7 separate regions of the Homo sapiens genome follow, and regions 2, 3, 4, 5, 6 and 7 are each linked to region 1. The links are contacts of gene promoters, found by promoter capture Hi-C in human tissues and cell types (Jung and others, 2019). All regions are on one chromosome and are shown on one strand. The core of a region is centred on a gene start or on the middle of the fragment in contact, and the rest is flanking DNA. Distances in the headings are between cores, read along the strand shown. Region 1 holds the start of ABCC12 (ATP binding cassette subfamily C member 12). Region 2 overlaps PHKB (phosphorylase kinase regulatory subunit beta). Region 3 has its middle 150 kb from the start of LINC02133. Region 4 has its middle 120 kb from the start of LINC02133. Region 5 overlaps N4BP1 (NEDD4 binding protein 1). Region 6 has its middle 89 kb from the start of LINC02133. Region 7 overlaps N4BP1 (NEDD4 binding protein 1).

Region 1 (3,785 bases), core at 753-3,252:
GGGTGAGAAATCTGTTTGCTGGCAATCACAGGATGGGGTCTGAGGGGTACACAGCTGATGAGAGCTGGGAGGAGGCAGTGCCAACCGGGCCAGGGTCCCTGCAGCCATCATGGCTCTGTTCTTGGCATTGTGTTTTCCATGCAGAGCATCTGAGGGTTGGCAGGAGATGCCAAAAAGTCACTGGTGCACCCCTCTGCTAGCAGGCAGGGGGTTCCTAACCTAACCTCAACAGACTGGACAGGCAGAAGCAGGAAGGCCTCTGTTTAGAGCACAGGACACAAAGACCATGTACAACTTGCAGTTCCATTTTATATGGCCTGCATAGTTTAAACATTTTTTTCCAATTTGTGGAAAACATTTAAAAATGAGGAGATACCACATTAAAAAAAAAATAAGACTGGCTTCTGGCTTTCGTCAAATATCAAGAGCTCTGTATGTTCATGTGGTGACAATCCACTTACGTTGAGCACGGCAGCCCCTCCTGGGCAGGGTATACATGCTTTAGTTTGCCACAATCCCCACCACTCCTTACTGTCTCTGTGACTCTGAGATTTGGGGTCATGTAACATTTATTATTGCATTGGCACTGCTGTCTTCCTTATAGTGTTTCCTGAGGCCTTTTTCTCTATCCTTGTCTCTGCCCCAAGAGAGAACAAAAGATGTCTAGAAGTCATCTCAAGAAGAACCATTTTCCACACCTGCCCACTTTGCTCTGTTATATTTCATTTCTGCCCCTGTCTAGCCCAGAAAATTAACAACTTTATGTTTGAGAACTGGACTCTGGGTCTTCCTTGGTGCTCATGATGGGAGTTCCTCCATCAACCAAAAGCAGGCACACCTTTAGTCATAAAATTTTTCCCAGGTATGAGACTACAGCCCTACTTCTTTCTTAATAAATCCATTGTTAATTTAAAGCCACCAAAGTTATCAATATCTGATGGTCTCCCCCAACTCCCACAGCCCCTTCCTCCAGGGCCTGACTGGCCTCCAGCACAGAGGAGACACTGGGGAGCTCTCCCAGGCCCTGCCTGCACCGCACCTCTCCTGTCTGTCCCCAGGTCCCAGGCACCTGTGGCAGCCAGATCAGAAAGCCCTGTGAGTGATGAGGGACTGGGGTTGGGAGGCAGGGAGAGGCAGAGAGGTGGCAGAGGGAAGTGCATGCAGGGGACAGCACCAAGCTGGGGGTGTGGGAAGGGAAGTGGGGGTGCTTTTGCTCAAGTACCCTCATCTCCCAGAAGGCCTAAAACAGTGGCCAGTGATGGCATCTCCAAAAGAGGTCATCCATCCAGTTACAGACACATTCCGACACGATCAAAGAAGGATGCAGAGCCTGGATTCAGAGCAATTCAAATCTACCCTCCCAGGAAAATAATATATTTAAAAGTTAAAAAAAAAAAAAAAAGAAAGAAAGATGAAAACCTCATATGAGAACTGCAGTAAAGCTTTCCAGGTCTTTTTTTTTGGGGGGGAGGTATAAATCCCATAATTAAATTGTGAACACTACCCTGTATATGTGTTTGTGTTTGTGCATGTGTGGGAAAAGACTTAAAATATTCAATGTAGGCTTTTGTATTTCAGAGATTTTGAAATCGCGTCTTGGCATTTCTGCCTTTTCTTTTATGATAGCGGGGGCTCCAAAAGTGGAAGAGGGGCTGCCTTTCTTCTGGGAGCCTCGTCCCTGCTGCCTCCCACTTGGGCAGCCCCATTCAGTGGTGTCACCTCCCCCAAACCCCCCACCACACACACACACAGCCTGTCCTGAGGATGAGAAACAAAGGCCCTTGGGACTAAATGGTGGCCACTAATTGTTACAGGGAGAAGCTTTACCTGGGCTGGAAATGAAGCTTTACCTGGGCTGAGGATGAGAGGGAGGGGAGGAGGGTCAGCAGTCATGGGGCTCAGAGCCTGGCATCTGCTGCCCAGGACTCCAGGGCCTGCTTCTCCCCAAGGACCTCAGATTCAGTTTCTCTTGTCCCACCCGCCTGAAGTCCTCCTCTCCAACTGCCCCATTCAACTGCCACTCCCACCACACCTGAGAGGGAACTCTGGCGGGCCAACATTCCCTCTGCCCACATTAAAGGGCTCTCCCCTCTTCCAGGATGGCCTGTGGCCGGGTCTGGCTCTTTGGTGACAGTCAGAGCCCATGCATGAAAGCACTGTGCATGGCCAGCCCTTCCCTGGCTGTCACAGCACATCCTTGTAGAAGAGAAGGAGAAAAATCCTCTCTCCAACCGTCATTCTACAGACGAGAAGCCCAAGGAACAGAAGCCTGTCCACGACTGGCGTGGGGCTGAGACCAGCACCCAGGTCCCCTGAGTCCCACTCCAGGCTCCTTCCTGAGAGAATGCATCGAATTTTCTACGCTGTGTTCCTGCAACCGGGAATCAACTTTGGGATCAGGGGAAGGGAAGGGAGGGGAGGGGAGGGCAGGGGTAGGGGAGGGCAGGGGTAGGGGAGGGCAGGGGAGGCGAGGGGAGGGGAGATGAGCCTCATCTTCAAAACAGAAAATCTCATTCATTCATTCCCCATTCATTTAACGAAAAAGAAAAGGGTAATTTGAGCTCAATTTGTCTTGAAATGAACGGAAGGTAAGTCTGAGACCTGCACTAGCAGCTAGCCCTTGCATAGAAAAGTTCCCCTGTGTCACCCTTGGAACCCTGCACATCCCGAGCGCAAGCGTGATTCCCGGGGTCCCTTCTGCGCCTGTCCCAGAACAAGCGCCCGATTTCAGGGGAGCCCAGCCGAAGGGTTCCACAGCGCTCAGCGAGCCGGCTGGGAGGGAGCAAACTCTCTAACTGCAGAAAAAAACAAATCTTGATTCCGCTTTAAGGGTTATTTAAACATCTTAGAGGACCTTCCCAGCCTCACGCACGTGGATTTCATGAGGAACTTGGCCGCTACCTTCTCCTGTCCTGCGCAATGCCGCCCCCTGCTGGCTGCCTTCCGGCCCCGCCGCTTCCTGGAGATGCGAATTCACCGCCTTTGCCCAACCTGAGTTCCCTTCCTACCTAGAGGGAGGTGGAAATGGAGAGGGGCTGTGGGCAGCTGTGTAGGAAAATGGGTCCTCCCAGGAAGGCTCCCCGGCCTGGGGAGTGAGCTAGACCGACAGCAGTTTCCTTACACGTGTCCAAAGTGTTCCATTTAATTTCCGTCCATTCTTCCCTTCATGAATGCAAATCACTGCTAATAATATCACTCGACATTTCTGGAGCCCTTTGTGTATCGCAAAATTCTTCATCCTCTTTATCACTTGATCTTCGCAACAACCCCGGGGGTCTCATAAACACAGCAAAGACTCGCTTCCACAATCTTCCAAACGGAGTCAAGTGCTGTCAAGTTTATGGAGGAAGAATGCCGATCAGTTTTCCTCTATCTCCATGAAAGGCTGGGCGGAGATGGATTTCCACCCAGACAAACAGTATTGGGCGCTACGCAAGAAGATTGGTGGGCCTAGCCGGAAACAGAGTGGAGAATGATGGAGAGGGACTGTCCGGTCTGTATCCAAGGAAGTCCTTAGGAAAAGACCAGCCAAGCTCCTGTTCCAGGCAGAGCGTGGACTCACCCATAGTCAGGGAACTGAGGCCCATCCTGGGTGTACACACAGCTCGCGGGGGGGCGAGATAATCCACTGGAATACAAAAAGAAAAAAAATAGAAATCCTTTTCATATTTCTCCTCTTCCTTTAAAAATTCTATTTTGGCTGTGTGCAGAGGCTCAGGCCTATAATCCCAGTACTGGGGGGCCAAGGCAGGTGGATCACTTGAGCCCAGGCATTCAAGACAAGC
Region 2 (3,785 bases), core at 517-3,016, 470 kb before region 1:
AGTTAGGCTGCTCGGGGGTCAAGGACCTACTTGAGGAGGCAGTCTGCCTGTTCTCACATCTCCAGCTGTGTGCTGGGAGAACCACTACTCTCTTCAAAGCTGTCAGACGGGACATTTAAGTCTGCAGAGGTTACTGCCGTCTTTTTGTTTGTCTGTGCCTTGCCCCCAGAGGTGGAGCCTACAGAGGCAGGCAGGCCTCCTTGAGCTGTGGTGGGCTCCACCCATTTGGAGCTTCCTGGCTGCTTTGTTTACCTAATCAAGCCTTGGCAATGGCAGGCACCCCTCTCCCACCCTCGCTGCCGCCTTGCAGTTTGATCTCAGACTGCTGTGCTAGCAATCAGCGAGACTCCGTGGCCATAGGACCCTCCGAGCCAGGTGTGGGATATAATCTCCTGGTGTGCCGTTTTTTAAGCCCATTGGAAAAGCGCAGTATTAGGGTGGGAGTGACCCGATTTTCCAGGTGCTGTCTGTCACCCCTTTCTTTGACTAGGAAAGGGAACTCCCTGACCCCTTGTGCTTCTCAAGTGAGGCAATGCCTCGCCCTGCTTCGGCTCGTGCACGGTGCACTTCACCCACTGTCCTGCACCCACTGTTTGGCACTCCCTAGGGAGATGAACCCAGTACCTCAGATGGAAATGCAGAAATCACCCATCTTCTGCATCGCTCACGCTGGGAACTGTAGACCGGAGCTGTTCCTATTCGGCCATCTTGGCTCCACCTCCAATCATTTGTTTAACAGCAAACTTAGCAGATCCTTGTCTTATCTTGAAATCTTAAAATGATTATTTAAAAAAAATTATTTTTTCCAAGGATCAGTTCTATTCTGTATGGCTTTTTTTTTTTTTCCAGAAAATTTCAGCTGGTCAGGTGCAGTGGCTTATACTTGTAATCCCAGCACTTTGAGGGGCCAAGGTGGATGAATCACTTGAGCCCAGGAGTTTGAGACCAGTTGGGCAACATGGCAAAACCCCTTCTCTACAAAAAAATTAAAAATTAGCTGGGTGTAGCGGTGCCTGCCTGTAGTCCCAGTTACTCGGGAGGCTGAGGTGGGAGGATTGCTTGAGGTGGACATTGCAGTAAGCCAAGATCACAACAGCTGCACTCCACCCTGGGTGACAAGTAAGACCGTGTCTCAAAAAAAATAAAATAAAATTTCAGGTGTTCTGGTTTACCACTGCTGTCAGATTTCCATGTACTTTATTTCATATTGTACTCCTTAATTGGGGTATATCGGAAAGAAACATGCCAATACACACACTGTATCCTTACTAGCCTCCAAACAAGAGTGTTTTTAAGCCGGGCGCGGTGGCTCACCCCTGTAATCCCAGCACTCTGGGAGGCCAAGGTAGGCGGATCACGAGGTCAGGAAATCAAGCCCATCCTGGCTAACACAGTGAAACCCCGTCTCTACTAAAAAATACAAAAAATTAGCTGGGCGTAGTAGCGGGCGCCTGTAGTCCCAGCTACTCGGGAAGCTGAGGCAGGAGAATGGCGTGAGCCCGGGAGGCAGAGCTTGCAGTGAGCCGAGATCATGCCACTACACTCCAGCGCTCCAGCCTGGGCGACTGAGCAAGACTCCGTCTCAAAAAAAAAAAAAAGAGTGTTTTTAAAAGGATAAGCTTATTCCCAGAACTGTCTGAAGAATACTAACATTCCCTTTTGTGCTTTTCCAGCAGTCCCAAAGAATTCATTGTCCTTAAGTCAAACCTGGATATATATGAAGGTTGATTTGGTCAGTCGTGTGTATCTACCTTCTCATTTGCTTGTTGGCGAGTAGAGCATCTCTGGCTCTTACACAGACTGAATGTATAAGACTCTGGGCCATCCATAACCTTCATTATTTTGACCTTCCACATTTTCTTTCTTCTGCCCTTTGTTCCTTCCTTCCTTCCTTCCTTCCATCCATCCATCCATCTTTTCCTTTCCCTATTTTGTATTTAAATGCTTTTGTACTGGCCAGGCACAGTGGCTTACGCCTGTAATCCCAGCACTTTGGGAGGCCGAGGTGGGCGGATCACGAGGTTAGGAGTTCAAGACCAGCCTGTCCAACATGGCGAAACTTCATCTGTACTAAAAATACAAAAATTAGCTGGGTGTGGTGGCGCACGCCTGTAATCCCAGCTACTCAGGAGACTTAGGCAGGAGAATCACTTTAACCTGGGAGCCGGAGGTTGCGGTGAGCCAAGATCACGCCATTGCACTCCAGCCTGGGTGACAGGGCGAGACTCCTCCTCAAAAAGAAAAAAAAAGAAAGCTTTTGTGCTAAAATTATCAAATCAGATTTTATGGCCTTGTCATTGGGAATGAGGGATAATTAGCCTGATTTTCCTATGTCCTTCTTTATTAGTAGTCCTACAAATGGATAAAATGTCTTTGATATTCTTAACTGTGTTACTCCTTGGTAATTTACTTTCTGTAGATTTCTGACTGCTATTAATAGTTTTATAGTTTATGTCTAAGGCTGTTTTGCTGTTTTTATTTGAAGAATTCCAAGGTATAAAAAGATTAGTTTGACCAACAATTTTAATGAATAAATGTGGTTTTTTTTCTTTTTCTTTTTTTTTTTTTTGAGACAGAGTCTCACTCTGTTGCCCAGGCTGGAGTGCAGTGGTGTGATCTCGGCTCACTGCAAGCTCCGCCTCCTGGGTTCACACCATTCTCCTGCCTCAGCCTCCTGAGTAGCTGGGACTACAGGCGCCTGCCACCACACCTGGCTGATTTTTTGTATTTTTAGTGGAGACAGGGTTTCACCGTGTTAGCCAGGATGGTCTCAATCTCCTGACCTCATGATCCGCTGCCTCAGCCTCCCACAGTGCTGGGATTACCGGCATGAGCCACCGTACCCAGCCAATAAATGTATTTTAATAATATGACAGATTGTATTTATTTGTGCTTGAATGAGTGAAAAACCTGCTTCCTTTCATGATTTTTGAGAACAGTGTTGTCAATAATTTGCCCACAAAACTGCTGAGATTTTGTAAATGGAAGTCTAAGGGAAAACATTAAGGTCTCCAGCTATCTTTGTGCGTGATACTAGGGATTTTAAAAGATAAATGTGATAAACTATGTTTAGTTTTAATAACTCAAGTTAGTGGCAGAGTTTAAAAAGTAAGCCTTTTAAAAATAAAAATGTTATTTATTTTAGAAGATACCTCCTGAAGTTAATTGACTGTGACACTTGCTTAAGTAACTCCAAGACTTGAATTAAAAATTTGCATTACCTTCCTCTAAACTGAGTTTAAGAAATCACATAACAATAATTTACTAACATTTTTATGACTCTTTAACATTTCAGAGCCTTTTTATAGACATTATTTGTTCCTCAAAATAATTTCATAAAGTAAGTTCGATGAGCAATAGTAGTATTCCCATTTGAAAAATAATCTGCCAGTGGGGCACAGTTGGTAAGTGACAGAATTGGTATTTAAGTCTGTCTTTGCTTTTCATTATGAAGAATTTTAAGTATATAATGACTTATTTGGTACATTCCCATGTACTCATTATTTAGTGGGTATAAGCAGTGCTTAGCTATTTGTATTTGCTATATTTGCTTTATCTTTTATTTTGCTATAGTATACTATGAAGCAAATCCCAGACATTTAACTTTTACCTGTGAGTATTTTAGTGAGTATATAGCTCTAAAAAAGGACATTATCTCAATAATCCCAATACCATTATCATACCCACCAAAATTAGCAGTAATTTTTTTAAATATCACCAGATACTCAGTTCTTATTTAAATTTCTCTGGGTTATCCCCGAAATGACTTTTTACAGTTGGTCTGT
Region 3 (3,785 bases), core at 695-3,194, 440 kb before region 1:
GATCCCACCATAAAATGAAAGTGAAGAAACTCGGTAACATCAGTCGCCCACTGTCAAGTGCCCACCCTACCATGGTGGAGGAGAAACAGAATGTGAGGTAGATAATTAACGGTCCCATCTTATGCAATCAGTACAGTGAACTAAATGGGGCAGGTTTAAGTGGCAATTTTGGCTCAAATGCCAGCTCAGCCACCAGTAAAGATGATGGGTTCAGAAGGGTTGGGATCATTTAGAGAAGTGTTTGTTTTCTGAGGCTGAAAGTGGGAGCTGTAATCTGGAACCTTTCATGCAACATGTGTTTCTGGTTCTTCAGATTCAATTGTTTTTTGATAGAGACATTGCAAATTATGAAAGCACAGCTCATGACCTAGAAGTTTTGCAGCACGATCGTTTCCCTTCTGGACAACTTCCTACAAGACTCTGGGTTGAAAACAGCAGGATGAATCCAGGCAGAAAGGAGATGCTTTGAATCTGATTTTTTCCTGCAACTTCCTTTTCCAAAATAAATAAATAAATAAATAAATAAATAAAAATAGCGGAATGATTCTCCAGCCATTGAAATCATTAATCTGCCCTCAATTAACAAGATTCTGTTTAGTTTTAAGATTTCTGGCCGGGCGCCGTGGCTCACGCCTGTAATCCCAGCACTTTGGGAGGCCAAGGCTGGTGGATCACGAGGTCAGGAGATTGAGACCATCCTGGCTAACATGGTGAAACCCCGTCTCTACTAAAAATACAAAAATTAGACAGGCATGGTGGTGGGCGCCTGTAGTCCCAGCTACTCGGGAGGCTGAGGCAGGAGAATGGCATGAACCTGGGAGGCGGAGCTTGCAGTGAGCCGAGATTGCGCCACTGAACTCCAGCCTGGGCGACAGACCGAGTCTAAAAAAAAAAAAAAATTCTTTCTTGTGTTGCTTTTATGTGTGTGTGTTTGTTTATTGACCTATGTGAAAGGAAAAGGTGTATTCACATTTTTACTATTCACAATTTCTTGACCCATAAGTTTATTTTATGCCAATTTAGACCTTCATGATCACCAATTTCATCCTGGTGATCAACATTAATTAACTTTCACTTGCAAGTAGCCATGTCCAGGTCTCCAGTGGGAAAGGACAGAGTCTGAGAATTCTCTGAGAGTCTGAGAATATGGGTTCAGGCCCCATATCTCCCTTTTTCTGGACATGGTCGACTGTTCGGCAAATCACTGATGCTCTTTGAACCGCAGTCTCCTTATCCTTTAAGTGAGTGAATTGGGCTGGATTTTTGCAATGCTCCCCTCCACCTCTACCTTTTTATCAGTTCATCTTCCATTTCTGTAACTGCATCCCCTTTCCTTTAAGTGTTTCACTCCCTTGTGTCTGTCTTTCGAAGAGCTTCTCATTCCCTTGTCTTAAATTTCACTTCTATGCTAACTCCTACACACACACATCTTGATGTATAGACACATGTACATAGATAAGAATAGATATGGATCCTGTATTGCTATTTAACCACCAGAAACTTGCACTTATCTGTCCTACTATCTTTCATCAAACCCCTTATCCAAATTTTGTAGAACTTGCTATTTCCTCCCAATACAGATATTCTCCATTCTGGACTTAAGGTCTCTTCTCTATGGCCTCCCCATTATCCCAGAACCTGCACTAATACTTAATATCCTTCTTTATCAATTGCCAAGTCCTATTGTTGTCTTCTGTCTTCGGAATCTGACATCTCCTTTCTGCTCCCACTCCCAGGACCCAGTGGCTTCGTTTCTCAGTAACCACCCACTTGATATCTGGCTCAAACCAGGAGAAAGTTCCCCAACAGGGAGTGGGGACTGCTCACTTGCCTGTCTCACTGTCTGTCATCGAAACCCACAAATGAGACAAAGAGATAATGTGGTTTAGGACTCAGCTTTCAGTTCAGAGGAATGGATGGCTGCAGCCCCAGGAAGAAATTGAAAAGCCAGGGAGCCAGATGCATCCCATGGGACCCTGCCCAGAGCTCGGCCACCGATTGCCCGGGACACCCACCCCAGTGTCCGTCAGACCCTGCCCTGAGCCCAGCCGCCAACTGCCTGGACACCCACCCCAGTGTCCGTCAGACCCTGCCCATAGCCTGGCCACCCACTGCCTGGGACACCAGCCCCAGAGTACATGAGACCCTGCCCGGAGCCTGGCCACCCACTGCTCAGGACACTAACCCCAGTGTCTGTCAGACCCTGCCCGGGGCCCGGCCACCCACTCCCTGGGACACCTGGCCCAGTGTCCGTCAGGAGTTTTGGCTCCATCTTTGCTAAACGCTTTTTGTGATTGATTTCATTTAGCCCTGACACCGTTTCTGTGAGGAAGAGACTGTTGCTGCTTCTGTTTGAGAAATGACAAAGCTGAGTAGCTAAGAAGTTAAACAGGCCCGTGCCAGGCCAGTGGCAGGGCGGGGGTTAGAGCCAAGGTCTGCAGGATTCCAGATCTGGGCTCTGAACTCCCTGCACTAATCTGCCTTACCTTTTAGACCAGCTCCTTTTGGTTTATTTTTTAACTTCTGTATTCTTTTTTTAAATGACAATTGTGAGACAAGATAGCAAACATAAAAAGCCATGTTTGCTCATTTCTGCTTGAACCCCTCACTGTGATGAAATGCAGTCCTCTGGAACAATGCCTTGAGGACAAGGCAGGACAGAGCCCGCGGCCACCCACATCCTCCCTGAGTCACTACATCCTTGAAAAGATAAATAACCTGAACCTTTGCCTTTGCCTGCACATAAGATAACGTCTGAAAGGGTAGTCATCTAGAACCAGATGTACTCTCACATCCAAACTTTGACGTGATTTTGCACATACTCAACCGCCGCCACTTGCATATAAGCTGTGGCTGAAACTGGTTTGGAGCAATCTGACCCATCTGCTCTGGGCCCTAGGTCTCAGCCTATTGTCCTCATTAAGACTTCTGAATAAAACTAACTTTAATTCTTTAAAAGCTTAATTTTTGTCTTTAGTCGACAACAACAATGGCTAAGAAAAAGCAAGTCTAAAGTGGTGTCCTCAGTGGAGGGAGAGTCAGTCTGCCCGTTCTTCATTTTTTTTTTTCTTTTTTTCGAGACAGAGTCTTGCTCTGTCTCCCAGGCTGGAGTGCAGTGGTGTGATCTCAGCTCACTGCCACCTCTGCCTCCTGGGTTCAAGTGATTCTCGTGCCTCAGCCTCCCAAGTAGCTGGGACTACAGGCGTGCGCCACCATGCCAGGGTAATTTTTGTATTTTTAGTAGAGACGGGGTCACCATGTTGGTCAGGCTGGTCCCAAACACCTGAGCTCAGGTGATCCGCCCACCTCAGCCTCCCAAAGTGCTGGGATTACAGGCGTGAGCCACCGTGCCCTGCCTGACAGCCCCCCTGTTCTAAGAATGGAAACTTTCTTCTATTTCTGTTGCCTCTGCCTCTGCTCCATTGCATCTTCCCTCCGCATCCTTAATGGAGCTCCTGAGCCCAGTTCAGGATGGCTGTCCTTAGAATTCCAGAGATTTGGTTGGGGGAGTCGTCTCTCGGGTCATTGCTTCCCATGGGCATGGCACCTTTGATTGACAAACACAGAAGGGCTTGTAAACATCTCTTCCTGTCCAGGACTCAACACCTTTTAAGATCCATGGTTTCTAAAGAAAAACCTGGATTTGGTTGAAACCATGCATTTTGTATGCCATGATTAGGAGGAGAGACAGGGGCTTCTTCCCAAGCTGTGCCCTGCCCTGATCCTGGTGAGGACCCACATGGAGTGAAACCCCTGAGGGGCACCACAGAGGGGTCGGGGAGGTG
Region 4 (3,785 bases), core at 358-2,857, 420 kb before region 1:
CCTAAGATCATTTAAGATACAGGTTTAAATCCTGTGTGTTTGGAGTCTTTGTACTGTGCAGTTGAGTACTTTTGACTATAATAGTTATTTTTCTAAGATGTTCATACTCACTATTTCTTTGTGGCATTTGAGAAAGTCCTGTCTTCTAATTTAGGATCATCAAATTAAAAAAAATTGAAACGCTCTTCCCCACTCCTCTCCCAAAATTATCTTCTGGCAATATTTGTGGAGCTACAATTTGCACCTCCTGTGAAAGTCTTGAGACTCCAGACCTGGAGCTGCCAATTCAGGAGCCAAGGCGGATGAGGTCTGAGTGAGCTGTTGGACAGTACCTAGGAGGCCGTAGGAAGTGGTGTTGGGTCCTGTGGTAGACCAGCAGTTCTTTACATTTACATTTGCTACCTGTTAACATCACCCAGGGAGTTTTTTATTTTTTTATTTTTTTATGCCCAAGCTGCATTCCAGACTAATTAAAACAAAATCCTTGGGAGTGGAATTCAGGTATTACTATTTTTTTTTAAGTTCCTTGGGCAGTTTTAATATGCAGCCAAATTTAGGAACTAGTGAACTAAGCCAGGATTTCTCAATCTTTAATGTGCAGACAAATGACCTGGGGACCTTGTTAAAATACAGATTCTGACTCATCCTGTCTGGGGTAGGCCTGAGATTCTGCATTTTTGGTAAGTTCCTGAGTGCTGCTGATGCTGTGGGTCCTCAGACCACAGTATGACTAACAGGATGTAAAGTAGAGAGCTCAAGCAGCCTGAAAACTTTTTTTGCAGGGGGCAGGGGACTGGTCTCCTGTATGAACATAATTTGTGCCGACAATTCAAAATTAAGAGATTTCTCATAAAAATGGTTATTTCTGGTTTCTCTTAAAAAAAAAAAATGAAAGTGCCTACAATCCCCAGCTCTGCCTTTCCACACAGACTTGTGCTAAAGAGTGACTGCCCCACAGGAGGGGGTGCAGGTGACTCACCAGGGCAGGCTCTGAAATGCCTTTCCCTGCATTTGTTTATGAATAGGATGAATCTGTCTTTCATTTTTTCCATATAGACTGGCAAGTCGTCTTAGAACGCACAAGCGTACATGTGCGTCCACAGCAAAACCACGAAGTCAAAACACCAGATGATAAAGTGGAAAAGGCAAAAGGAAAAGGGAAAGAATAACAATTCTTTAAAAGTTACATGTGTTTATCAGTAAGGAAGGTTTTGGTTATATCAGAAACTTACTTGAGCTGTTTTAAGGGAAAAAATAAATGAGGGAGAGGCTGGGTGCAGTGGCTCACACCTTAATCCCAGCACTTTGGGAGGCCAAGGCAGGCAGATCACTTGAGGTCAGGAGTTTGAGACCAGCCTGACCAACAGGGTGAAGCCCTGTCTCTACTAAAACTACAAAAAATTAGCTGGGTGTGGTGGCGCACGCCTGTAGTCCCAGCTACTCTGGATGCTGAGGCAGGAGAATCGCTTGAATCTGGCAGGTGGAGATTGCCGTGAGCTGAGATCGCACCATTGCACTCCAGCCTGGATGACAGAGTGAGACCCTGCCTCAAAAAACAAAAACAAAATAAGTGAGGGAGAATTGTAAGCATAGAACGGTGCTCATGGACCCGTGATGCAGCAAGGCTTTCAGGGAAGAATAGAACCAGGGAGGGGCCTGGCTGTCAGCAAGGGGGACCCTTTCCTTGCTTTCATCTCACTCCTCTCTGGACATTCTCCTCCTCCTGTGTCTTTGCTTTCTCGTTCTCCAGTCCACACAGTAGAAAACACAGCCACCAGCAGTACCTGCGTTTACATACCAGGGGCCTTGCTATACATTCCCAATCCATATTCCTGAGGAAGAAATTATAATGGCTCAGCCTGGTAGAGGAGGAGGGACATCGCTGTTAACTGGGAGAACTGGAGGATGTCCAGCGAAGCTTCTGTTATGCTAAGGAAACTTATTGCAATTAAGCATAAACATTGAGCCATCCTATGTGGAGAGAATGAATGCGCTGAAATTCTAGAATGGCCCCAGCCCATCCCAGAGGCAGGGGATAGACAACGAGGTGTCTCGACTCCTTTGCTCCTATGGCATCTTTGCCTTTTGAAGGAGAATCTGTCCAGTTGCAGAGTCAACTATTTCTCAATAATGATAATAATAATAATAATCCTGAAGATGCAGCAAGACCAGCAGTGCTTCACTGATTTTTTTTCCTTTCCAAAAGGCATGCAGAGCATGATAATCACCTGAAGGCAGCAGCTCCTGACAGCCGGCTACAGGCTGGCTTTCATGTTGTGGGTGGCATTAGGTAGATAACCCACAGGAATCGTCTCTGGATCTGAGGTCAGGAGAACACAGCCAAGGCTACACAAGACAGAGAAGATTCTGCTGAATTTCAAAAGGTAGGAAACTGGGTTAAATGTGAAAATGGGAAGAGAGCAGAGGAAGATATTCATAAGCCAGGTTATTGAGAAAGAATGGTTTATAAGAGTGTGCACTTACTCCCCTATAATGAGGTCTGGGATTATCTGTAAAAACATTTAGCTCTGATTGTTTTAAAAGAAAAGATAAAATGCTTAATATGTGGCACCCTGGAGTGTGCCTTTGTGTGTGTGTATTTTAAATGATCATCCTAACGAAACACCTTTAATGTACAATGGATCGAATTATACAGCTTCCCATCAGAGAGTGCGAGGGAGAACAAAGCCTCAGATGTTGTACATTCAGACAATGAGGTGAGAGCAGATTTGAGGATAAGAGGAACTGAAGTGCCTCGTATAAGCCTGTATGAATGCTCCCATCTGGTCCTAGGACTCAACTATCTGACATTGGCAAAGATGTTTCATAATACATAGGGCCAAATGCTAAGTCTACCTTATAATTAAAAATATCCCCTAGGGCTCTTCCTTGAGGTCTGAGAAAATGTGATTATACTAAAAATTATATCACATATGGGAGGAAATAGCAAAGTAACTCACCCCACTTGTCCTGGGGTGGAATCTTCAGTTAACCTTGTCAGAGATCCTAAATGTTATGTTTACTCTTTCTCTGGATCTATTAAAGCTATAGGTGCTGGCCATTCTCTCTGGAAAATGAAAAATGGCCCATTCTTCCAGATACTCTCAAGTTAAGTGTGATTGTTACAAAGGCCTGGCGGATTCACATAGAGACAGACAAGGAAACTTCTGGGCTCCTTTCTCTCACCCCGCCCTTCCTCTCTTTTACTGTGGAATCAGTCTGTTGGAACAATGCTTTAAAATACATCTGAGTGGTATCAGAGCAAGAATTCATTTGTACTGAGGCATGGCTTTTATCTGTAAGGAAGGCTATTTGAAAAACCAGGCCTTGCGTGGTGAGGGCTCTGAGGTGAGAGCAAAAAAGGACCGTCTACCTCTTATCACCTGGGCTGGCTTGGCTGGCTCCTTTCCCAGAGCCTCTGCTCTATTTACCTTCAACTCCCTTTCCAATGGGCTGAGCTGGCCTCTACTTAGGCTGACTGTATTGACATTTGCATTAAATACTTTCTGGCTGCTCCTTCAGTTTCTGTCTTCACTCCTGGAGATTTCTTTCTCTTTTATTTTTGAGACTGAGTCTCACTCTGTTGCCCAGGCTGGAGTGCAGTGGTGCAATCTCTGGTCACTGCAACCTCTGCCTCCCAGGTTCAAGCAATTCTCCTACCTCAGCCTCCCAAGTAGCTGGGATGACAGGTGTGTGCCATCACACCCAGCTAATTTTTGTATTTTTAGTAGAGACAGGGTTTTGTCATGTTAGCCAGGCTGGTCTCAAACTCCTGACCTCAGGTG
Region 5 (3,785 bases), core at 530-3,029, 400 kb after region 1:
CTTCAAATGCCCTCAGGACTGAATGGGCTGAATTCTGGCCCGTCTTCTTCTATGAAGTTATTTCTAGACACAGGGCCTCTCTCAGCCTCCTTCCTCTTCTGAGTTCCAATCCTGTATGGTGCACGAGAATCACAGAGATAGAATGGCATTATGCCTGTTAGAAAAAGGAGTCACTAGGGAAAGAGCAGCCTGCCTGGGTTGCAGAGCCAGGGGGATGAGCTGGATCATACTCCGGCTTCCTCACGCCTGCCCTTTCCACGACCCCACAGTGGGACTGTCACCCCACCTGCATGTGCGTTCCTTGAGAGCAGGAAGAGGCTGGACACTTCACGAACATCTAATGCTCTGTGAGATTCACAAGAGCTACGCACAGACTCCTCTTTTTAAAGGCTATTTCTTTTTCAGTGAACCATAAATAAGATATTTCAGAGGCTCTTACCCCAGAAAATATATGTAAATAAACACACGCAATCTTGATAATTCAGGAGTGCTTTGTTTATCTAAAGGCATTCAAATATGGCAAGAAGGTAACAAAGTGACATTTTTAACTAGAAAAAAGACTGGGGGTGGTTCTTTAAAGGGGGCCTCTTTTAATCTTCCAAAAACAATAAATCATCCATCACTCTAATTGCTTAACAGCAGGGACATGCCCAGAGTTAACATCAACCACAGCCCTAATTTGAAAATCCACAACAGAACAACCTGCTGGTTCTTAGAAAAACCAAGAAATATGTATATTTAGTCCTCAAAAGGATAACCCTTGAGATAACTGCACTGAAAAGGTTTTTAAGGTGGCTCCCTGATTACTTTGACAGATACAAATGTGTGCTACCTACTCTCCCTCTTTTCCTTAAAGCTTCTAGTGATGGCAAGAGGAGGAACTGGATAGAGGAGGAGTACCCAGTTCAATTCCACTGGGTCACTATGTAACAAGGAAGGAAATGCAGACCGATGAATTCTGCTGCCCTGGACTCCTTACAAGTCTAGAGGGGGAACAGATGGAGGTTCTAGAAACATCAGCTCTCAACTAAATTCCAAAGTGTTATTCTCAGTAATAAGATCATATCACTTTTGATACTCTAAAAAAATCTCAGGAATGGAATTAAAATAGAGGTTCAAAATTCTGGTGGAGAACATACAAATTTACCCAAAAAATAAAACTACAATGACAAAAAATTAAGTGAAGCCAAATTATTGTCCTCAAAATAATACAGAGGGTCGATTAAGGACCCTTCTTCCTACTTCAAGTCCTATACCCTGAGCAGGCAGACATGTGCTTACTCATCACTGTCTCCTAGCCTCTCTGCAATCAAACCAGAGTAGCATGTTGACAGGTAAACCCAGACCAAAGGTCTATTTCGACCCAAAGTATATATATAATAACACCTTGCTACTTATGGGAAGGCCAAAGCTCTGGGGCTCCCAGTTCCAAATGCAGAATGAACAGTTATCAAGTCTGGGAGGCCAGGTGTCCAGGCCCTCAAGACATTTAAATGCCTGCTTCCATATAATTGGTTAAAGGTTATATCATCTGGTTGTTTGCCATATTATAGAATGCTGGCAACTAAAAGAAAGTGTCCAAAGTGGAGGAGAGATGGGTGACACACAGCTGATAAAAACTCATGGCAGCCATAGCACCAGACAGGGCAGTGTGGGGACAATGGAAAGTCCTTTCTGAGTTACCCAGGAAAAAGCGATTTCTTTTTATGGAACCCTAATATGGAAAAGACTAGTATGGAAAAAAAAATGGCTAAAATACTTAATTCTGGCAAGGGAAGGGGCAAACCCCATCTACATGGAAAACTATCACCCCATATGTCAGGGGCTCTCATGCTGAAGTTTCAGGCTGACAGAGCCCAAATGTTTCTTGGCCACTACTGTGCTGTCTAGCCATACACCACAAACAATTTCCACTTACTCATCATTTGACTCATTCATGGTGACAAGGGGGCAAGAACAAGGTATACAAAATTGGCAGCATTAAACAGGGTACTGTGGAGGTTTTCATGGTGGTATGGGCTGCAGACCTCATTCTGGATAGGCAAATGAACAAAGGCTTTACAAAAATACATCGAAGGGTGGGCCTAGGCTGCTTTAGGGTGGGGCTCACACCAACAGATCCTATTGCTTAAGGACCAAATAAGTACTTCCCCAACTACTTGGGTCAAATCAGTGAGCTTTAGTCAGCAGTGCTATGCAACCCAAGACTTAAGTATCCAATGATGCGTTGGCCTGAAAATTCCAACCTTAACTTCTGCTGGAGGAGAGAGGGTATACAGCAGCTCTGGGGAAAGACATTATGGGCCCAAATCTCTATCCATGTAACCCTGGAAAACATTTTTAAGCCACTTCATGTTGTATAAATTATAACTTTTGACTCACAATTGGTGTGAAGGTTGCATTTTTAAAAATACAGTGCCTGACACATAATAATGGGTGATTCGGCTTTAAAATCTCAAATATTTGTTGCATTAAATATATGGCCTCAGTTAAAAATCTAAACTGGCCACTGGAATAGTAACCATGAAGTTACAAATAGGTAGTAAAAAGCCACTAAAAAAATCCTAAACTGGGCATGGTAAGGCATGCCTATAGCCTCAGCTACTAGGAAAGATTGCCTGAGCCCAAAAGTTTGAGTCCAGCCTGGGCAAAATAGTGAGACTTTACCTCTTAAAAAAAGAAAAATTCTAATTTGCCTTTAATTCATCAACAAGTTTTTACTGAGCTCCTACTATGTGTCAGGGACTATGGGTATTAGAGGTAGTTCACTGAACAGAAGAAACACAAATCAGTTTCTTCATGGAATCTAGTCAAAGTTTATTCACACTTAACATTGAAGCAACTGATTTAAAATAAGGGCTGATTTTTTTCCAACTTCCAAAAAAAATTGAGGTAAAATTCACACGACTAAAATAATCAATTCAATGGCATTTACTACGTTCGCAATGCCGTGCAACCACCACTTACATCTAGTTCCAAAATGTTTGTCACTCCAAAATAAAACTCTATACCCATTACGCAGTTTCTTCCTAGAATATGGGTAAATCTTAATTACTGATATTTTCAGATCAATTTACATCAAATTAAGTACAAGTCTGTCTTCTTAAAGTAACACATTCTCTTGTAAAAGTATTGCCTTTAAACAGAGACATCTGTGAATCCAAAGAAAATGTAAATCCTCCCAAAACAATCAGTTTTCCAAAAAAAAAAAAAAAAGAAGAAATAAAAAAAGAAAGCTTGCAGCTTTCCCTTAGTGTAATAATTGGTGGTTTTCAAAAGAGATGATACTGTACTCAGGGCATTAGGAAATATGTAGGAGTGTGTTTGAGGTGTCACAACGACTGGGGAAGGATATTATAAGCAAAGTGGGAGGGACTAGATTTGCAAAACATCCTGTCACGGATAGGCAGCACCACTCTAAATTCCAACAGTGACCCTGCTGAGAAATATGCCTGTTAACTACCCCAAAAGGTTTATAAAAAGCATCAGGATCGCTGCTCATTCTACGTTAACCTTGCATTTCTTATTTGGAAAATCCTTCCACATATAGAAAAGTGAAAGAGGATGAGAATTGCTCACAATTGTGACCTAAATTTTGTGTCACGAGTTGGCTCAAGAAATCGTAACAATGAAGAACTTGTTCCGGGCTTGGGGTGTGGGTGACTGAAGTGACATTTTTGCTTAGATATCGCTATGCAGCTGCGGATCATTTGCTGGGTTTCCCCTAACAGGGCTGCCAAAAAAACCAAAGTGAAATGACAATAAACAGTATTATTTGGAAATGA
Region 6 (3,785 bases), core at 889-3,388, 390 kb before region 1:
AAGCAGAAGTAAGGGAAAAAAGATACATCACTAGAGAACTCCTCAAACTGAAATACAAAGAAAATAAAGAATAAAAAAATGAAGCAGAATATCCAAGAACCATGGGGCAATAACAAAAGGCATAACATATATGTAATGTGAATTCCAGAATGAGGAGAAAACAACAGAACTATTTGAAGCAATAATGGTTGAGAATTTTCAAAAATTAATGACAGATATGCCAAACCACAGGTCCAGGAAGCTTAGGTAGGGCCTATATCAAAAGTGTCTACATGTAGGGATATCATATTTAAACTGGAAAAACAACCAGGTTACATTCCAAGATGGCCGAATATGAACAGCTCCGGTCTGCAGCTCCCAGCGTGATTGATGCAGAAGATTAGTGATTTCTGCATTTCCAACTGAGCCTCTGCTGGTGATACCCAGGCAAACAGGGTCTGGAGTAGACCTCCAGCAAACTCCAACAAACCTGCAGCTGAGGGACCTGATTGTTAGAAGGAAAACTAACAAACAGAAAGGAATAGTATAAACATCAACAATAAGGACATCCATACCAAAACCCCATCTATAGGTCACCCCAATACCAAAGAGCAAAGGTGGATAAAACCACAAAGATAAGGAGAAACCAGAGCAGAAAAGCTGAAAATTCTGAAAACCAGAGTGCCTCTTCTCCTCCAAAGGATCAGAGCTCTTCATCAGCAATGGAACAAAGCTTGACGGAGAATGATTTTCATGAGTTGACAGAAGTAGGCTTCAGAAGGTCGGTAATAACAAACTTCTCCGAGTTAAAGGAGGATATCTGAACCCATCGCAATGAAGCTAAAAACCTTGAAATAAGGTTAGACGAATGGCTAACTAGAATAAACAGTGTAGAGAAGACCTTAAATGACATCATGGAGCTGAAAACCATGGCATGAGAACTTCGTGACGCATGCACAACCTTCAATAGCTGATTCGATCAAGTGGAACAAAGGGTATCAGTAATTGAAGATCAAATTATGAAATAAAGGGAGAAGACTAGGTTAGAGATAAAAGAATAAAAAGAAACCAACAAAGCCTCCAAGAAATATGGGACTATGTGAAAAGACCAAATCTACGTATGATTGGTGTGCCTGAAAGTGACTGGGAGAATGGAACCAAGTTGGAAAACACTCTTCAGGATATTATCCAGGAGAACTTCCCCAACCTACAAAGGCAGGCCAACATTCAAAGTCATGAAATACAGAGAACACCACAAAGATACTCCTCAAGTAGAGCAACCCCAAGACACATAATTGTCAGATTCACCAAGGCTGAAATGAAGGAAAAAATGTTAAGGGCAGCCAGAGAGAAAGGTTGAGTTACCCACAAAGGGAAGCCCATCAGACTAACAGCAGATCTCTTGGCAGAAACCATACAAGCCAGAAGAGAGCGGGGGCTAATATTCAACATTCTTAAAGAAAAGAATTTGCAACTCAGAATTTCATATCCAGCTAAACTAAGCTTCATGAGTGAAGGAGGAATAAAATCCTTTACAGACAAGCAAATGCTGAGAGATTTTGTCACTACCAGACCAGCCTTACAAGAGCTCCTGAAGTAAGCACTAAACATGGAAAGGAACAACTGGTACCAGCCACTGCAAAAACATGCCAAATGGTAAAGAACATCGATGCTATGAAGAAACTGCATCAACTAATGGGCAAAATAACCAGCTAACATCATAATGATGAGATCAAATTCACACATAATAATATTAACCTTAAATGTAAATGGGCTAAATGCCCCAATTAAAAGACACAGACTGGCAAATTGGATAAAGAGTCAAGACCCATCAGTGTGCTATATTCAGGAGAACCATCTCATGTACAGAGACACACATAGGCTCAAAATAAAGGGATGGAGGAAGATTTACCAAGCAAATGGAGAGAAAAAAAAAAAAAAGCAGGGGTTGCAATCCTAGTCTCCAAAAAAACAGACTTCAAACCAACAAAGATCAAAAGAGACAAAGAAAGCCATTACATAATGGTAAAGGGATCAGTTCAACAAGAAGAGCTAACTATACTAAATATGTATACACCCAATACAGGAGGACCCAGATTCATAAAGCAAGTCCTTAGAGACCTAAAAAGAGACTTAGACTCCCACACAATAATCATGGGAGATTTTAACAACCCACTGTCAATATTAGACAGATCAATGAGACAGAAAGTTAACAAGGATTTCCAGGACTTGAACTCAGCTCTGCACCAAGCAGGCCTAATAGACATCTACAGAACTCTCCACCCCAAATCAACAGAATATATATTCTTCTCAGCACCACATCACACTTATTCCAAAATTGACCACATAGTTGAAAGTAAAGCACTCCTCAGCAAATGTAAAAGAACAGAAGTCACAACAAACTGTCTCTCAGACCACAGCACAATCAAATTAGAACTCAGGATTAAGAAACTCAATAGAAACCGCACAACAACATGGAAACTGAAGAACCTGCTCCTGAATGACTACTGGGTGCATAACGAAATGAAGGCAGAAATAAAGATGTTCTTTGAAACCAATGAGAACAAAGACACATGTACAAGAATCTCTGGGACACATTTAAAGCAGTGTGTAGAGGAAAATTTATAGCACTAAATGCCCACAAGAAAAAGTGGGAAAGATCTAAAATTGACACCCTAACATCACAATTAAAAGAACTAGAGAAGCAAGAGCAAACACATTCAAAAGCTAGCAGAAGGGAAGAAATAACTAAGATCAGAGCAGAACTGAAGGAGATAGAGACACAAAAAACCCTTCAAAAAAATCAAAGAATCCAGGAGGCTGGTTTTTTGAAATGATCAACATAATCCTTTGGGTATACACCCAGTAATGGAATCGCTGGGTCAAATGGTATTTCTAGTTCTAGATCCTTGAGGAATCACCACACTGTCTTCCACAATGGTTGAACTAGTTTACTCTCCCACCAACAGTGTAAAAGTGTTCCTATTTCTCCACATCCTCTCCAACATCTGTTGTTTCCTGACTTTTTAATGATCGCCATTCTCACTGGCGTGGGATGGTATCTCATTGTGGTTTCGATTTGCATTTCTCTGATGACCAGTGATTATGAGAATTTTTTCACATTTCTGTTGGCTGCATAAATGTCTTCTTTTGAGAAGTGTCTATTCATACCCTTTGCCCACTTTTTGATGGTTTTTTTAAATTGTAAATTTGTTTAAGTTATTTGTAGATTCTGGATATTAGCCCTCTGTCAGATGGGTAGATTGCAAAAATTTTCTCCCATTCTGTAAGTTGCCTGTTCACTTGGACGACAGTTTATTTGCTGTGGAGAAGCTCTTTAGTTTAATTAGATTCCATTTGTCTATTTTGGTTTTTGCTGCCATTGCTTTTGATGTTTTAGTCATGAAGTCTTTGCCCATGCCTATGTCATGAATGGTATTGCCTAGGTTTTTTTCTAGGGTTTTTATGGTGTTAGGACTTACTTTTAAGTCTTTAATCCATCTTGAGTTAATTTTTGTATACGGTGTAAGGAAGCGATCCAGTTTCAGCTTTCTACATATGGCTAGCCAGTTTTCCCAGCACCATTTATTAAATAGGGAATACTTTCCCCATTTCTTGTTTTTGTCAGTTTTGTCCACTCATGATTTGGCTCTCTGTGTGTCTATTATTGGTGTATAGGAATGCTTGTGATTTTTGCATATTGATTTTGTATCCTGAGACTTTGCTTGAATTGCTTATCCGCTTAAGGAGATTTTGGGCTGAGACGATGGGGTTTTCTAAATATACAATCATGTCATCTGCAAACA
Region 7 (3,785 bases), core at 343-2,842, 380 kb after region 1:
GGGTCCTGCTGGCATTGAGAGACACCCTGGTTTGGGGGAAGTCCCCTGAGCAAGCCCACGTGCGCAGCTGCTAGGGGCAGGCTGCGGGAGGCCCTCTTCTTCCTGCTGCCTGTTTTGGTGGCTGAAACTTTAGACTGATCCAGGAGCCAGACAGGCGGGCAGACAAGCGCATTCTTTTTGGGGGAGGCCGCCGCCTCCTCTTCTCGCTAGAAGCAGGGAGGAGGGGAGGACAGGGCCTGCCCAGGCCTGACCCCAGACTGGGTTTCAGGCTGTGGGGCCAAGCAGGGCTCCCTGGGGACTCGGGGCTGGGGAAGGAAAGCCCCAAAGGCTGGAGTCTGCGGTTTGGAGTCCTGTGACTCTGGGAGCTGAAGCCACCAGGCAGGAGGGGGTGAAAGGGGGCTGGTTTAAGAAGCCCTAAGCCTCTGGGCTTTTGGCTCCAGCACTGGCTGTGGGTACTTCTGCTCTGTTTCTGGGCAAATCCCTGCCTGCCCAGTCCATTTCCCCAGTGAATGCCCCCAGCCCTGGCATCCTCGGTGTGTAGGGGATTGGAACCTGAGCCGGGAAAAAGGCCACGTACAGTTTCCAATCAACATCAACTCATCTGTGTTTCCCGAAATGAAGTGCAAGGTGGCTCTGATGCATACATGGGCTCACTCCTGACACAGCTTCTGCAGAACTGGTCAACTTCTTTAAAAAAATATGCTCTTGGCATCCTCTCGCAGGAACAGGGCTGGATACGGGCCCACCAAGCAGGAAGTGGGGAGGCAGCTTCCTTCCGCAGCCTCCCTGTGCCCTGAAGACTGACAGCCTTGACCCAGGTCTGTCATGGGCCCTCAATTCTTTTCCTTGAAGGGTGGAGGTATCTTAGGTGCCATACCAGCTGCTGAGTCACCTCTGGTGCAGCTTTGCCTTTCAGGGAGGTGGGATGGCCCATTGGAATTCAAATCCTAAATCCTGGACATCTTAGCTTGAAGAAATGGAAGTTCCTGAGCATCTCTGTACCTCAGTTTCCTCCTCTGCAAAATGGAGATAATAACAGCAGCACTTTAGGAGTGAGGTGAGGATTAAAGGAGACAGAAGCTTGCCGGGCACATGGGTGGTGAGGGCACGACACTGGTTGCCGGCCTCAGCTTTCTCAGCACCCTGCAGGCAGGCAGTGGCTGTGCTCACTTCCTCCGGGTGCTCTCTCTGGTGACGGCACCCGAGGGACTCTCCCAAGTGCCTGCCTTGTTCAAGGAACAATGCCCTCTCTAGAACAGCTGGACTTCCCATGGCCCTGCTGAGGCACTGAAAGAAATGTAGGCCCTAACCTAAGCACCCTCATCATTGGACCACAGGGATAAAGGAGTGCGTTCAGAACCTGGAGGATGACGGCTTAGCACTTGGAGATAAGACCTGGCTGGTGGGGGTGTGGGATGACCTGGAAGGGTGGCGAATAGTTAGGTAGGTGTCCGCAGGGCTGCTGATCAGAGCCCCAGTAGCAGTCACTGAGCGGGGCTCTGGGTTGGGCACAGTTCTAAGCACCACGTTTATTCCTCATGTCACCCTTGAAGTAGAAAGCATTATTATGCCTATTTTACAGGTGAGGAAATCCTCATCTGTAAAATAGGCATAATAAAATAATGCTTAGTTACAGTTCTGAAGTATACAGAAAGTCAAACTCCAAATGAACAGTGCTGGCATTTGCCCAACTAGGGAACTGGGGAAAAGAACTGCCGTCAGGGGACTGAAGAGGCAGTGGGATGGGCACAGAGCCACGGCAGCAGGGAACAGCTCGAGAGCCAGGCCGAGTTCTCTGCTGAGGGGCACCAGGCCTGAGTTTCAAGTTACTCAACTCCGAAATAGTTGGCCCCTTCCAGCATTTTCTGACTGGGGTGGATACTCCTGAAGCCCTGTTTGTGCAGGTCTTTGGACCTTTCTAAACAATCTGCAAATCCTTGCTAAAGACAGTAACACGTGTTACTCAAGACTCGATTTCAAAGGACGTAAATCCAACTGGAATGACCAGCTTAAGCAAAAAGTGTGTTAGAATACTGGGGTGTGGTGACGTCCGAGGAAGGGCTTTCCTGACAACAGGAACCCAAGGCTCATGCTGCCAGGAACCTCTCTCACGTCGCCGCTTCTTTCCTGCCACAGGTCGACTTCCCCCAGGGTGGAAAATGGCTTCTGACAGACCTGGGCCTGGCATCCCACGATTCCCACCACCACAGAGGAACTCCCCAGGAGTGACTTGGACTGGCATAGGTTGGGCCGGCTGTCGGCCCTGGCCAGGAAGCCTGAGTGCATCTAGTATGCAGCCTGCGCCAGGTACCCCTCCCCGGACCTGTGTGCCCAGGATGCCATGTGCTGGAGCCTGGCAGGGGAGGGAGAAGGGAGTGGAGTGACCCCAGCCCCACCCCACTGTCCCACTGCAGGGCAGTGGATTCCCGGCCTCTTACTGGTCCTGCTGCCAGATGCCGCAGTCAAGAAGGCACTGTCCTCCAGTTCAGTTGAGCAGACATTTATTAAGCACCTATCAAGTGCAAGGCACTGTGCTAGGCGCCGTGGGAAATACAGAGAACACAGGCGGTCCCTGCCCACGAGGAGCTCACAGTCTAGAAAGGGCAGCAAGACAGTACACAATCAGTGGCAGCAGCACCAGCCAGAGTGGCAAGTGCTCAAAGCGAGACACAAAGTGCTGTGCGGTCACAACATCATGGGGATGCTTCTGGCAGAAGCACTGGAAAGGAGACGAGGACTCAGGCTGGGCCTTCCAGGAGGGAAGCCATTTGGGAGAAGGGCATCTCTAGCGGAGAGAGGTCCATCTGCAGAGCCCACAGGTCATGGGAAACATGTGGCTGCAGGGAGAGTTTGGGGACAGTCAAGTATGGCTGGGAGGTGGACAGCCACGGACACTAAGCTCAGGAGATGTGAACTTTGTGGTCTGGTCAAACAGCCACTGCAGATCACTTCGCAGGAGGAGGGGTGACTAGAAGTATGTTACTGGAAGGTAAATCTGGCCACACTGCAGCATCTGGACGGCAGAGGGCAGCGCTGGGAGGGGCCAGCCAGTTAGGGCCCACCACCCCTGGGTGTCTGAGAGTGGGAGTAGCGGGCAGGGGCCAGCAAAGCACGAGGGCAGAGCAGGGGACCATACGGAGGGTGGGTGTGGAAGAAGGGAGGGGCCCCATGCAAGCTGCAGGTCTGGGGAGCCTGAGGATGTCATAGGGCTTCCTGGTAGAGTGGAAAGTGCACTCCTGAAGGTCAGGGCCAGTCACTACAGAGAGGGGACAGCGAGGAGAGGGACGGTGTGGCCCTAAGGGTGACTGCAGTTTCTCAACATGTGGTCCGTGGATCACCTGCATGGGAACTGCCTGGGGAATGCGCTCATTTGCAGATTCCCGGGCCTTCCTCCAGAACTACTGGGCAAGCATCTGCCGGGTCATGCCCGGTAACCTACATTCTTAACACCAGCTGCCCTCTCCACCACCACGAGCCCCAAAGGTGGGGAAAAGTCTGCAAGCCACCTGCAGAGGAAGAATAGGGTGTTAAGGACTGGCTTTAGGCAAAAAGAAGAGACAAAAAGAATGAGGGAGGTCTGGGAGTGAGGGAAGTGGTGGGAAGCAGGGAAAGTCCGGTCAAGCCATGTGCACCAAGACAGAGCCCCAGCGCGGCCTTGCAGCCAGGCACCGGGCCGTCCCCAAGGGCTGCTCTCAGTCCGCTTTCACTTGGTGGGCGAAAGCCACATTTGCAAACTGGGAAGTGGAGAGTGGGAGGTGAGGGGAAGCACTAGCAATGAATGAAGA

Evidence for each region. Contacts are between HindIII fragments. The study calls those that stand out against the background at their distance.
Region 2: a fragment that was not itself captured here is called in contact with the fragment with the promoter of ABCC12 in region 1 in 2 of the 25 tissues and cell types used here (dorsolateral prefrontal cortex and mesenchymal stem cells).
Region 3: a contact is called between a fragment that was not itself captured here and the fragment with the promoter of ABCC12 in region 1, in 2 of the 25 tissues and cell types used here (dorsolateral prefrontal cortex and lymphoblastoid cells).
Region 4: a contact is called between a fragment that was not itself captured here and the fragment with the promoter of ABCC12 in region 1, in 7 of the 25 tissues and cell types used here (H1 embryonic stem cells, IMR-90 fibroblasts, dorsolateral prefrontal cortex and 4 more).
Region 5: a contact is called between a fragment that was not itself captured here and the fragment with the promoter of ABCC12 in region 1, in 1 of the 25 tissues and cell types used here (bladder).
Region 6: a fragment that was not itself captured here is called in contact with the fragment with the promoter of ABCC12 in region 1 in 2 of the 25 tissues and cell types used here (IMR-90 fibroblasts and mesendoderm cells).
Region 7: a fragment that was not itself captured here is called in contact with the fragment with the promoter of ABCC12 in region 1 in 2 of the 25 tissues and cell types used here (dorsolateral prefrontal cortex and spleen).

Annotation. Positions count from the first base shown.
Region 1 is chr16:48,153,991-48,157,775 of GRCh38, forward strand. It overlaps ABCC12 (ATP binding cassette subfamily C member 12), which reads right to left and starts at 2,003. Exons shown (of 31, transcript NM_001393797.1): 1 at 1,851-2,003. The HindIII fragment of the contact is 12,201 bases long and covers 1,632-3,785 here.
Region 2 is chr16:47,683,191-47,686,975 of GRCh38, forward strand. All of the region lies in intron 26 of PHKB (phosphorylase kinase regulatory subunit beta), which reads left to right. Among named protein-coding and RNA genes, the nearest start is that of LINC02133, 170 kb to the right of the region's middle. The HindIII fragment of the contact is 3,079 bases long and covers 228-3,306 here.
Region 3 is chr16:47,710,640-47,714,424 of GRCh38, forward strand. No RefSeq gene overlaps it. Among named protein-coding and RNA genes, the nearest start is that of LINC02133, 150 kb to the right of the region's middle. The HindIII fragment of the contact is 3,782 bases long and covers 54-3,785 here.
Region 4 is chr16:47,731,979-47,735,763 of GRCh38, forward strand. No RefSeq gene overlaps it. Among named protein-coding and RNA genes, the nearest start is that of LINC02133, 120 kb to the right of the region's middle. RefSeq lists an enhancer at 1,736-2,935. The HindIII fragment of the contact is 6,735 bases long and covers 1-3,785 here.
Region 5 is chr16:48,555,094-48,558,878 of GRCh38, forward strand. All of the region lies in intron 2 of N4BP1 (NEDD4 binding protein 1), which reads right to left. Among named protein-coding and RNA genes, the nearest start is that of N4BP1, 53 kb to the right of the region's middle. RefSeq lists a silencer at 2,025-2,319. The HindIII fragment of the contact is 4,191 bases long and covers 1-3,785 here.
Region 6 is chr16:47,767,332-47,771,116 of GRCh38, forward strand. No RefSeq gene overlaps it. Among named protein-coding and RNA genes, the nearest start is that of LINC02133, 89 kb to the right of the region's middle. The HindIII fragment of the contact is 3,324 bases long and covers 477-3,785 here.
Region 7 is chr16:48,536,242-48,540,026 of GRCh38, forward strand. It overlaps N4BP1 (NEDD4 binding protein 1), which reads right to left. Exons shown (of 7, transcript NM_153029.4): 7 at 2,485-3,785. Among named protein-coding and RNA genes, the nearest start is that of N4BP1, 72 kb to the right of the region's middle. RefSeq lists enhancers at 94-463, 494-563, 1,324-1,393, 2,333-2,832. The HindIII fragment of the contact is 3,094 bases long and covers 46-3,139 here.